Linked DNA regions of Homo sapiens: all the other regions are linked to region 1. Evidence: promoter capture Hi-C in human tissues and cell types (Jung and others, 2019). All regions are on one chromosome and are shown on one strand. The core of a region is centred on a gene start or on the middle of the fragment in contact, and the rest is flanking DNA. Distances in the headings are between cores, read along the strand shown. Region 1 holds the start of SUV39H2 (SUV39H2 histone lysine methyltransferase). Region 2 overlaps FAM171A1 (family with sequence similarity 171 member A1). Region 3 has its middle 4.4 kb from the start of MIR4293.

The links. The method cuts DNA at HindIII sites, captures the fragments that hold promoters and counts their contacts. A contact is called where the count stands out against the background at its distance.
Region 2: a contact is called between a fragment that was not itself captured here and the fragment with the promoter of SUV39H2 in region 1, in 1 of the 25 tissues and cell types used here (hippocampus).
Region 3: a contact is called between a fragment that was not itself captured here and the fragment with the promoter of SUV39H2 in region 1, in 1 of the 25 tissues and cell types used here (dorsolateral prefrontal cortex).

The regions. Positions count from the first base shown.
Region 1 is chr10:14,877,253-14,880,115 of GRCh38, reverse strand. SUV39H2 (SUV39H2 histone lysine methyltransferase) reads right to left here and starts at 1,250. Exons shown (of 6, transcript NM_001193424.2): 1 at 1,197-1,250. The coding sequence starts at 1,227. SUV39H2-DT (SUV39H2 divergent transcript) reads left to right here and starts at 1,457. Exons shown (of 1, transcript NR_186426.1): 1 at 1,457-2,863. RefSeq lists a silencer at 777-1,516. The HindIII fragment of the contact is 4,398 bases long and covers 1-2,863 here.
Region 2 is chr10:15,214,865-15,217,656 of GRCh38, reverse strand. FAM171A1 (family with sequence similarity 171 member A1) reads left to right here. Exons shown (of 8, transcript NM_001010924.2): 7 at 1,547-1,661. The region is part of intron 1 of FAM171A1-AS1 (FAM171A1 antisense RNA 1); the gene reads right to left. Among named protein-coding and RNA genes, the nearest start is that of FAM171A1-AS1, 7.7 kb to the right of the region's middle. The HindIII fragment of the contact is 7,240 bases long and covers 1-2,792 here.
Region 3 is chr10:14,386,040-14,389,266 of GRCh38, reverse strand. No RefSeq gene overlaps it. Among named protein-coding and RNA genes, the nearest start is that of MIR4293, 4.4 kb to the right of the region's middle. The HindIII fragment of the contact is 4,354 bases long and covers 1-3,227 here.

The DNA of each region.
Region 1 (2,863 bases), core at 1-2,500:
AGTCCCTTCCATCTACAAAAACTAGAGAACGTTTTGTGTTAAGCTGACCTCATTAAGGGAATCACGTATAAAGGAGGTTCCTCTTATCTACTCAAGGTGTGTTTGTGTGCTTTTCCTAAACATTTTTATCTAGTTGAGGATTCAAAACACAACCCGCAAAGGAAATGCTCTTTGAAAATTAAAAAAAAAAAAAAAGTGAACATGAAAAACTGCAAACACGTGGTTAAAAAAAGAAAGACAATCTCTCGACAGTCTCCAGTAATGCAGAAAAAGATTTCACTGACAAAATTAAATAGTTCATGACCACCACAAACACCTTCCGCTGGTTCACAGTAACCCCTGACATTCTCCAAGGAGAAAAATTCAGGGATAATGAGGTCATAATCCCAGCGGAGAGGAGACGAGCTTGAAAACACCTTTACATTCCGGAACGCACGGAAAAGTTCCAGGCTCTCAAAGCGTGCGCGACACCAACACCCCCCGACGCCCACACCCACGCGCGCTCGGTGCCCAGTTCCCCGGTGCCCAATTCCCCAGCGTCCACAGAAATAACACCAAGCTCCCGGTGGGTGAAAGAGTTACCGTAAGCCAGAGGCTGCAACCTCAAATACCCACTTTCTGGGCGATTCTCCAACGAGGCACTCAACCTCCTAGCGTGTCCGCCTTGGGGGGGATTCCTCGCTTATCCCCTTTCTTAGCACACAGGCGCCCCGATTTACTCTCCCCCTCTGATATTAAGGTCATGTTCACGCCGGCGGGCGTCGCTTCCCGCCTCCCACTTCAAAGGCCCGGGCGCATGCCGCACGCCGCGCTCGAACCACCACAAAGGAGCCAGTCGCAGCCGTGCCCCCCGGACCTCCAACCGGGGACTGCCGGGGAGCGGCCTCGAAGCCCGAGGCCGCCACGGGAGACGCGGAGGGGGCCGGGCCGAGCGGGCGGAGAGGCCACGCTCCACTTCCGAAGTGCCCCAGGCTCGGACAGTGCCCACCTCCGCGGCGGGAGCCGGCCGGGCAGGGAGGCGGGTCAGCGGCCTGGGGGAGGATAGGCGTCCGCAGCGTGCGTCCCGGAGTTGGGGTCGCGGCGGGCGGGGAACCGCCACGTCGCCATCTGGCTGGCCCGCGGGACGGCCCCGCCGCCCGGGCCTTGGGAGCTTGCCTGGGAACAGGGAAGGCGAGGGGGCCGCGCTCCAGCCTCACCTCCTCGCGCCTCGGCCCCGACCGCCGCCATCTTGTAGAGCTTTCATTCAAACTGGCGCGGTCTGACGGGATAGCTCAGCTGGCCCGACGCCCCGCCCCTGGCCGGCCCGCGCGGGACTTGGGGGCCGGGGCTTGTTGGGGGACGGAACCCGCACGGCGTCCTGACGTCACTGGCGGCCGACCCCCCGCCGCGGCGGCCAGCGCGCCTGCGCCCCAAAGCTAGGCCCGGCCCCAAGCGCGAGGAGCGGGGCGGGGCGAGCGCGCGTGCTCCCGGATCCTCGGCAGTGTCCGGCGCCCCCTTCCCTTCGCCAGGCCCGTTTGGCGCCTTCACTCGGGAAGACGTCGGCCAGGACTTTGCGCTTTGGAGACGTCTTACTTCGGCAGCACTCGCACACTGCGAGATCCGACACGGGCAGCGGGGACCTAGGGAGCCGGGGACGCTGCCTGTCGGGTACGGTTCCGCAGCTACCGCAGCCCCGTGGGCCATGGTTAGTCTCCCCCCGACACCGCTCCCTCTAGAGCTCCGGGCTTCGGAAGCGGCTGCACGTGGGCATGGCTGGAGAGGTTCCGCTGGCTTGGGGCAGTCGCCGGGATTCCGACTGGTTGGTGTGGGGTGTGGCCTGTGCTATCCAGCTCCCAGCTGATCCTAATGTGCGGCACAGCGGAAACCACCGGTCCACATCAGTGCTTCTCACTTAAAGGGGCTTACGAATCGTCGGGGGTGGGGGAGCTGGACTTGGAATTTTTTAAGAGATGAGGTCTCACTCTGTCACCCAGGCTGGAGTGCAGTGGCGCGATTACGGCTCACTGCAGACTAGACCTCCTGGGCTCAACTTTAATGTAAATTGGGATTGGGTAGGTCTGTAAGGGGACCCGAGCTCCCCTCCCATGTTGTTGCCAAGCTCCTGAGCTCGGCCTGGTGGCGGGTGGGGGCCGGGAGGAGAAGGACACGTTAGTAAGGAAGCTGCAGGACGACTCCAGGGGCCTCCCACCTGGTCTCCACCCCCCTCCCCCACCCATTCTTGACGCTGCATCCATGATTGTTCTAAACAACCTAAAGCAGAAATCTTAGAGCAAATAACGAAAACTGGCAGAAGGCCATTTGATATCTCCTTAAAAAATTCATGTAAAAAATTACATAAACGTTTCAAAGCAGTATGTATAAATTTGAAATACTGGAAATGAACGCAGACCATTAAAGGAATAGTTAATTATTTGATTCCATTATGAAATACTGTCTAGCCGTCTTAAAAAGGTGTTCATGAAGCTTTTAGTATTCAGCAAAACCAAAACAAATCCCCCTGAAATATAGTTTTAACTATGGAAGAAAAAAATGTATAGGAAAATAACGAAATAGCCTTTTCGGAGTGATTTTCTTTTTAACTTCTCGTTTTTAAATATTTAATCATTTTCTACGATGGGAAACACCACTTCCTCACACACACTCATGCTCCCAGACTTTATTTAGCTACAAACGGCATCATAATACAAATACTGTTCTGCAGTCCGTGTGTGTTTCAATGCAACTGCATTTCTCAGACATGTTTCTAAGATTTGAGTCCTTAGTAAATTTTGTATTCCATATCTCATTACCTTGAGATAAGGAATAAAAGGCCCTGTCCAACCCTGTCACCTGGAAGAGCATCCAGGCCCTTTAAGGCTTAGTC
Region 2 (2,792 bases), core at 239-2,738, 340 kb before region 1:
TCAAAAAAAAAAAAAAATTGTTTCTCTGAACAAGTAAGCCAGTATCTAATTGTCAGTTATTTTTCCAATTTTTGTAAACTTTAACCCCCTCCTCGCACTCCATTGAAGTAATTATATCTGAAAGAGAATGGTGTTTCTTGTGAATTTAAGTAACATCACTGTTTTCAAAAACTGGTAAATCTTGGGTTTATCTAGGTCTTAAATTAGGAGATTTGTCCCCTTAAGAAGATTTTTTAAAAAGTCTATGTCTTAGAATGTCAAAAATCAAAAATAAGCAAATGGGTGTCTGTGGTGTTTAATAATCATAGCCATGCTACCCTGAAATAATATGAGGCCAGTTCATTTCGACCCATGTATTCATACACTGCCAGGAAACTCGGACACCAATAAATACCTAAATATTGGAATGTTGGGAGGTTTTTGTTGTCGCTGATCTGTTGTTAGTAACATTAAGATAGATTTGTACTACTACGGAACATAAAATGTGAGTTAAGCTACCTCTTGGGATTTTTTACAACATAAACTTAAAATATTTTTATCTTTGATAACCTTATGTATAAGTTCTAAAGAGATCTCTGGCCACGTAAGGTTAGCTATTTTGAAAAGCCATTGTAGAGAAAGATCTTGTTTTTAAAGATGGATATCATTTTAGTCATATTTGATACCTGTATTAAGTGTTAAAAGTTGCTGACTTTTTTAAGTCACAGGAAATGTATGTCATACATTTAAACTGATTCATTTGGGCTAGGGGCTCTCCAGACGGTAATGATTGACTGCCCGGGAAAAGCGAAAATAAAACTTTGTAGGGTTTTTTTTTTTTTTTTCACTGCAATATAAAATTCCCAGATAGGCCATCTTTCTGAAGGTGAGAGTCCCAGTCATTATATCGTCATGCGTTCATTTTCTTGTATGAAAAGATCATATGGCTGGGCACAGTGGCTCATGCCTATAATCCCAGCACTTTGGTAGGCCGAGGCAGTGGATTGCTCGAACTCAGGAGTTCAAGACCCACCTAGGCAACATAGTGAGAACATTGCCTCTAAAAAAAATTTATAAAAATTAGCCAGGTGTGGTGGTGCGTGCCTGTAGTCCCAGCTATGCTGGAGGCTGAGGCAGGAGGATTGATGCAGCCCAGGAGGTCAAGGCTACAGTAAGCCATGATTGTATCACTGCGCTCCAGCCTGGGTGACAGAATGAGACCCTGTCTCAAAAAAAAAAAAAATTAAAAAGATCATGTATTTCAAATGCGGCACATGCTACCAAGTGAGGCGCACTTCTCCGCTTAGGAGGGGCCCTTGACGTAACCACATCTTGTCTTTGAGTATTCAAAGTTCTCCTGGCTGTGGGAGCTTCCATAATAGTCATGCTAATCACTAATGCAATGCTGGTGGTACCCCAAGTGCATGATCCAAGGGCGTTTTCCTCTGGCCACTGCTCTATGCCCCAGCTAAGAAGAGTAAGCACAAGACACTGCGTTCTCAATGAATGATCCCTCTTTTGAGTTAAAGGTGTTCAAAACTCTAAATGCCATTTTCTGACCTTCTAGGTCCCGTTGTAACACAGGACATTACCACGTATCACACGGTGTTTCTTTTGGCCATTTTAGGAGGAATGGCTTTCATACTTTTGGTTTTGCTGTGTCTCCTTTTATATTATTGCAGGTAAAGTGTTACCATTTTGGCAATATCTTTTTTAATTCACAGTTTCTTGGGCAATTGATACTTAGAAGCATTAATATGGAGGTGGGTTTTTTTTTTAATTTTTCTAAATTGAAGTACTTTTTCTTCCCATGAAAAAGTAAGAACTCACATTTGTGATCTAAGTTGCAACTTAACAAATAGTATGTGTAAAGCATGCTGCGTGGATAACATTGCTTAGAAGGGGAGTTATGAAAAAGAGTTTAACAATAGTCATCTGATTTATTCAGAGTATTCCTGAACGCTGATTAAGAGATGATACTCTGAAGGGCAAAGCAGAACTCTTCTTATTTGGGCCAGGGACGTTGGCTCACACCTGTAATCCCAGCACTTTAGGAGGCCGAGGTGGGCGGATCACTTGAGGTCAGAAGTTCGAGACCAGCCTAGCCAACGTGGTGAAACTCCGTTTCTACCAAAAATACAAAAATTAGCTGGGCATGGTGGCACACGCCTATAATCCCAGCTACTTGGGAGGCTGAGGCAGGAGAATTGCTTGGACCCAGAAGGTGGAGGTTGCAGTGAGCCAAGATTGCACCACTGTACTCCAGCCTGGGCAACAGAGCAAGACTCCATCTCAAAAAAAAAAATTATTCTTATTTAGATGCCGTGTCTGTTTAGTTTGCAAGAATATTTATTGTCAACTCTTGAGTAACCCCTTTGAAATAAGTAACTTGGCTTATAAAAGCCTTTAAGTTTAGCTGTTTTAAAAAGGCATTATAGAGGAAAAATTTTATTTTTAAAAATGCAAAGCATTTTAGTCACGTTTGAGACTCTTTAATAAGTTGTTGACTTTTTTAAGTCATAGAAAAATGAATGTCATACATTTAATTCATTTAGGCAAAGGGCTCTCCAGACAGTAAAAGATGAAATCTCTCGATTATCCTACTCTAATAAGGATAAAATAAGGATAAGGGCCAGGCATGGAGGCCTAGCACTTTGGGAGGCTGAAGGGGGAGGATTGCTTGAGGCCAGGAGTTTAAGACCAGCCTGGGCAACACAGGCCATCTCTACAAAAAAACTAAAAGTCAAAAATTAGCTGGGCATGGTGGCATGTGCCTGCGGTGCCAGCTGCTCGGGAGGCTGAGGTGGGAGGAT
Region 3 (3,227 bases), core at 27-2,526, 490 kb after region 1:
TCAAGGCTCTCCTCGTCTTTGCAAAACTTCTTGAACCACCACTGCACTATATGTTTTTTAGTACAGTAGGCCAAATACATTGTTGATGTCGCAAGTTGTCGCCGCTGCTTTACAACCCATTTTGAACTCGGATAAGAAAAGCACTTGAATTTGCTTTTTGTCTAACATTATTTCCACAGTCTAAAATAAACATAAAATAAACAGCAAGTAATAAGTCATTAGCCAAAAAACATAAAGCAAGAAATGCCCATTAAAATGATGTATAAGATAACCACATTTATTTAAGAATGTATCCAATATCAAATGTCAAATTCCAACGATGCAAAAACCGCAATTACGTTTGCACCAATCTAATAATTCCAGGTGATCTATGGAGGTGGGACATTGATGTAGAGTTGAGGACGATAACTGGCTTCAGGATTTCTCAAGAAAAGCTTTGAGAGATCTACACCTTGGAAACCCCAGCCCTAGAGGAGTGTTCTTCCAAGACTCCACGAACAGGAAAAAGTCCTGGATAGCAGCTGAGTGCCGCCATATTAACCCTTTGGGATGGGCCCCAGAATCTGTGTTTCCATCCAGTTCCCAGGTGATGTTGACGCTGCTGACCCTGCAAGCAACCTCCGAGGTCTCTCTCCTGGTTTCTCTCTGCTTCCCTCAAATTTCTCACTTCTTCCACGGACACTTATTTTTACCCACACTTGTTATCACTCTCTCCTTTCTACAAATCTACCAGACCCCAACCTTCATCTCAGCTCACAATTTGGTCATTTCTAAAATGAATGAAACAGGCCGGGAGCGGTGGCTCATGCCTGTAATCCCAGCACTTTGGGAGGCCGATGTTCTGTGCTGGAAACACGTGAGAGGAGAAGAAAAGGCACACACACAATACCTTTAAGGGTGAACAACTTTTATCCCTGTAAATGACAATGCAGATATAATAAGCAAACCATATAATAAGCAAACGATATAATAAGCAAGTGATATAATAAGCAAATTGCAATGGGAAGGGGAGAAGGGAAAAGATACTTGCACTCACCAGACTATGGAGGATTCAGCACCAGACCGGGAAGCGACCGCCTGGGCTCCAGAGTCGGCCACTCCTCTGTGCACAGATGAGGAGAGGTCTCATGAAGCTTCGGCGCAGTCTGGGAACCTAGCTCTTTTTGTAGCGAGTTGTTTGGCATGAGGTCCAGTCACGAGGGCTCTTCATTGCTGTGGTCAAGGAACACAAAAAGGTCAACTTATTCTTGTGATTGTCTATTGTTTTTCACTAACTAACATATAGGAATAGATTGAAATAAAGATTTCTCTGAAACAGTGCTGGATGAAAGCCTCAAAGGGCTCATACAACCTGTTCTGGGACTTGGTGTCCATTGGTTATGTCCATGTTCAACTGAGTTCAAATCTAATATTTAACTTTTCCTCCACAGCCGAGGCAGGTGGATCACCTGAGGTCAGTAGTTTGAGACCAGCCTGGCCAACATGGTGAAACCTTGTCTCTACTAAAAATAGAAAAATTAGCCAGGCCTGGTGGCGGGCTCCTGTAATCCTAGCTACTCAGGAGGCTGAGGCACGAGAATCACTTAAACACTGGAGGTGGAGGTTGCAGTGAGCTGAGATAGCTTCACTGCACTCCAGCTTGGATGACAGACTGAGACTCCATCTCAAAAAAATAAATAAATAAAATTTAAAAAACAAAATGAACGAAGCAAAGAAAATATATGCTTTTTGCTTTCCCCATAGCACAGATATTATATCTGGGGCTTAGAGGAGCACGTAGGGCTACCCAGTATCTATAATAGAAAAGAAATCCTTTCTTTTTTTTTTTTTTCTGAGACACTGTCTCGCTCTGTCACCAGGCTGGAGTGCTGGAGTGCGGTGGTGCGATCTCAGCTCACTGCAACCTCCACCTCCCTGGTTCAAGTGATTCTCCTGCCTCGGCCTCCCAAGTACCTGGGATTATAGGCACACACCACCACGCCCAGATAATTTTTGTATTTTTAGTAGAGACAGGGTTTCACCATGTTGGCCAGGATGGTGTCCATCTCCTGACTTCATGATCCGCTTGCCTCAGCCTCCCAAAGTGCTGGGATTACAGGCGTGAGCCACCACGCCTGGCCCCTTTCTTTTTATGTCTTTCTGGTCTCTACTGAGTTTGTTTTAGGCTTATCATTTTCCAATGCTGGAATTGTTTTGTTTCTCAGAAATAGTTTTAACCTAAAACCCATTGGTTATGAAACAAAACTGCATAATGTCTACATGGGCATCCATTCATAGTGAAGTTTCATTGTAGTTAGATCGACTTTAGTGAACCTTTTTTGGATTCATTTGACAATGAGTTTGGATAACTCAGGAAAGGATGTAGAATCAATGATTTATGCATTATAGTCTGAAGTATGTAGCTGAATTTCAGTACTAATAATAGCATAGAATGGTGCTGTCCAAAATGCAACTCACATGTGTAATTTTAGAATTTCTAGTAGTCACATTTAAGAAAAGTAAACAGAAATGGGCGAAATGATTAATAGGGTATTTCATTTAACCTAATATATCCAGAATATTATTTCCACATGAAATCAGTATAAAAATTTTTAACGAGAAATGTACATTTTTTATACTAAATCTTTGAAGTCTAGTGTGCGTTTTGTGCTTACAACACATCTGAATTTGGACGGGCCACCTTTCAAGTGCTAGGTAGCCACATGTGGTTAGTGGCTTCTGAATGAGACAACACAGATATAAAGCATCGTTTTCTACTTTCTCTTTGACTGCCAGGGTTTAAGTAATGTCACTGTAAGGTTAACACAGTTTCAGTATTGTTTAGCCCAAATGCCACGTTTTATGGGTAAGATAATTGAGTCAGGGAAAGAGAATGTAGCTTGCCAGAGCACAGTGAGCTGGGCAGGCTCTGAGTTCACATCTCCTGCAGCCCAGCCAGGGCTCTTTCCCAACCAGACTACGCGCAGGCTGTGGTGACTCGCAGCACTTGTCTAGACAAGGAACGTGTCAATCTTTGATGATGTTGCATTCTGTGCTCTGCCTCTGAATTGAGATAGGATCAGTCTCAAATTCTTGAGATAAATTCATTAATTCACCGGCTCATTGATTCATTTGCCAGCCTACTACCTGTTAGACACTAGGAATGCCAATACACCCTAGAAAGACTCAGTCTGTGGGGGACAGACCAGCATTCCGCATTCATTGCAGCATCACCAAATACTGTGATG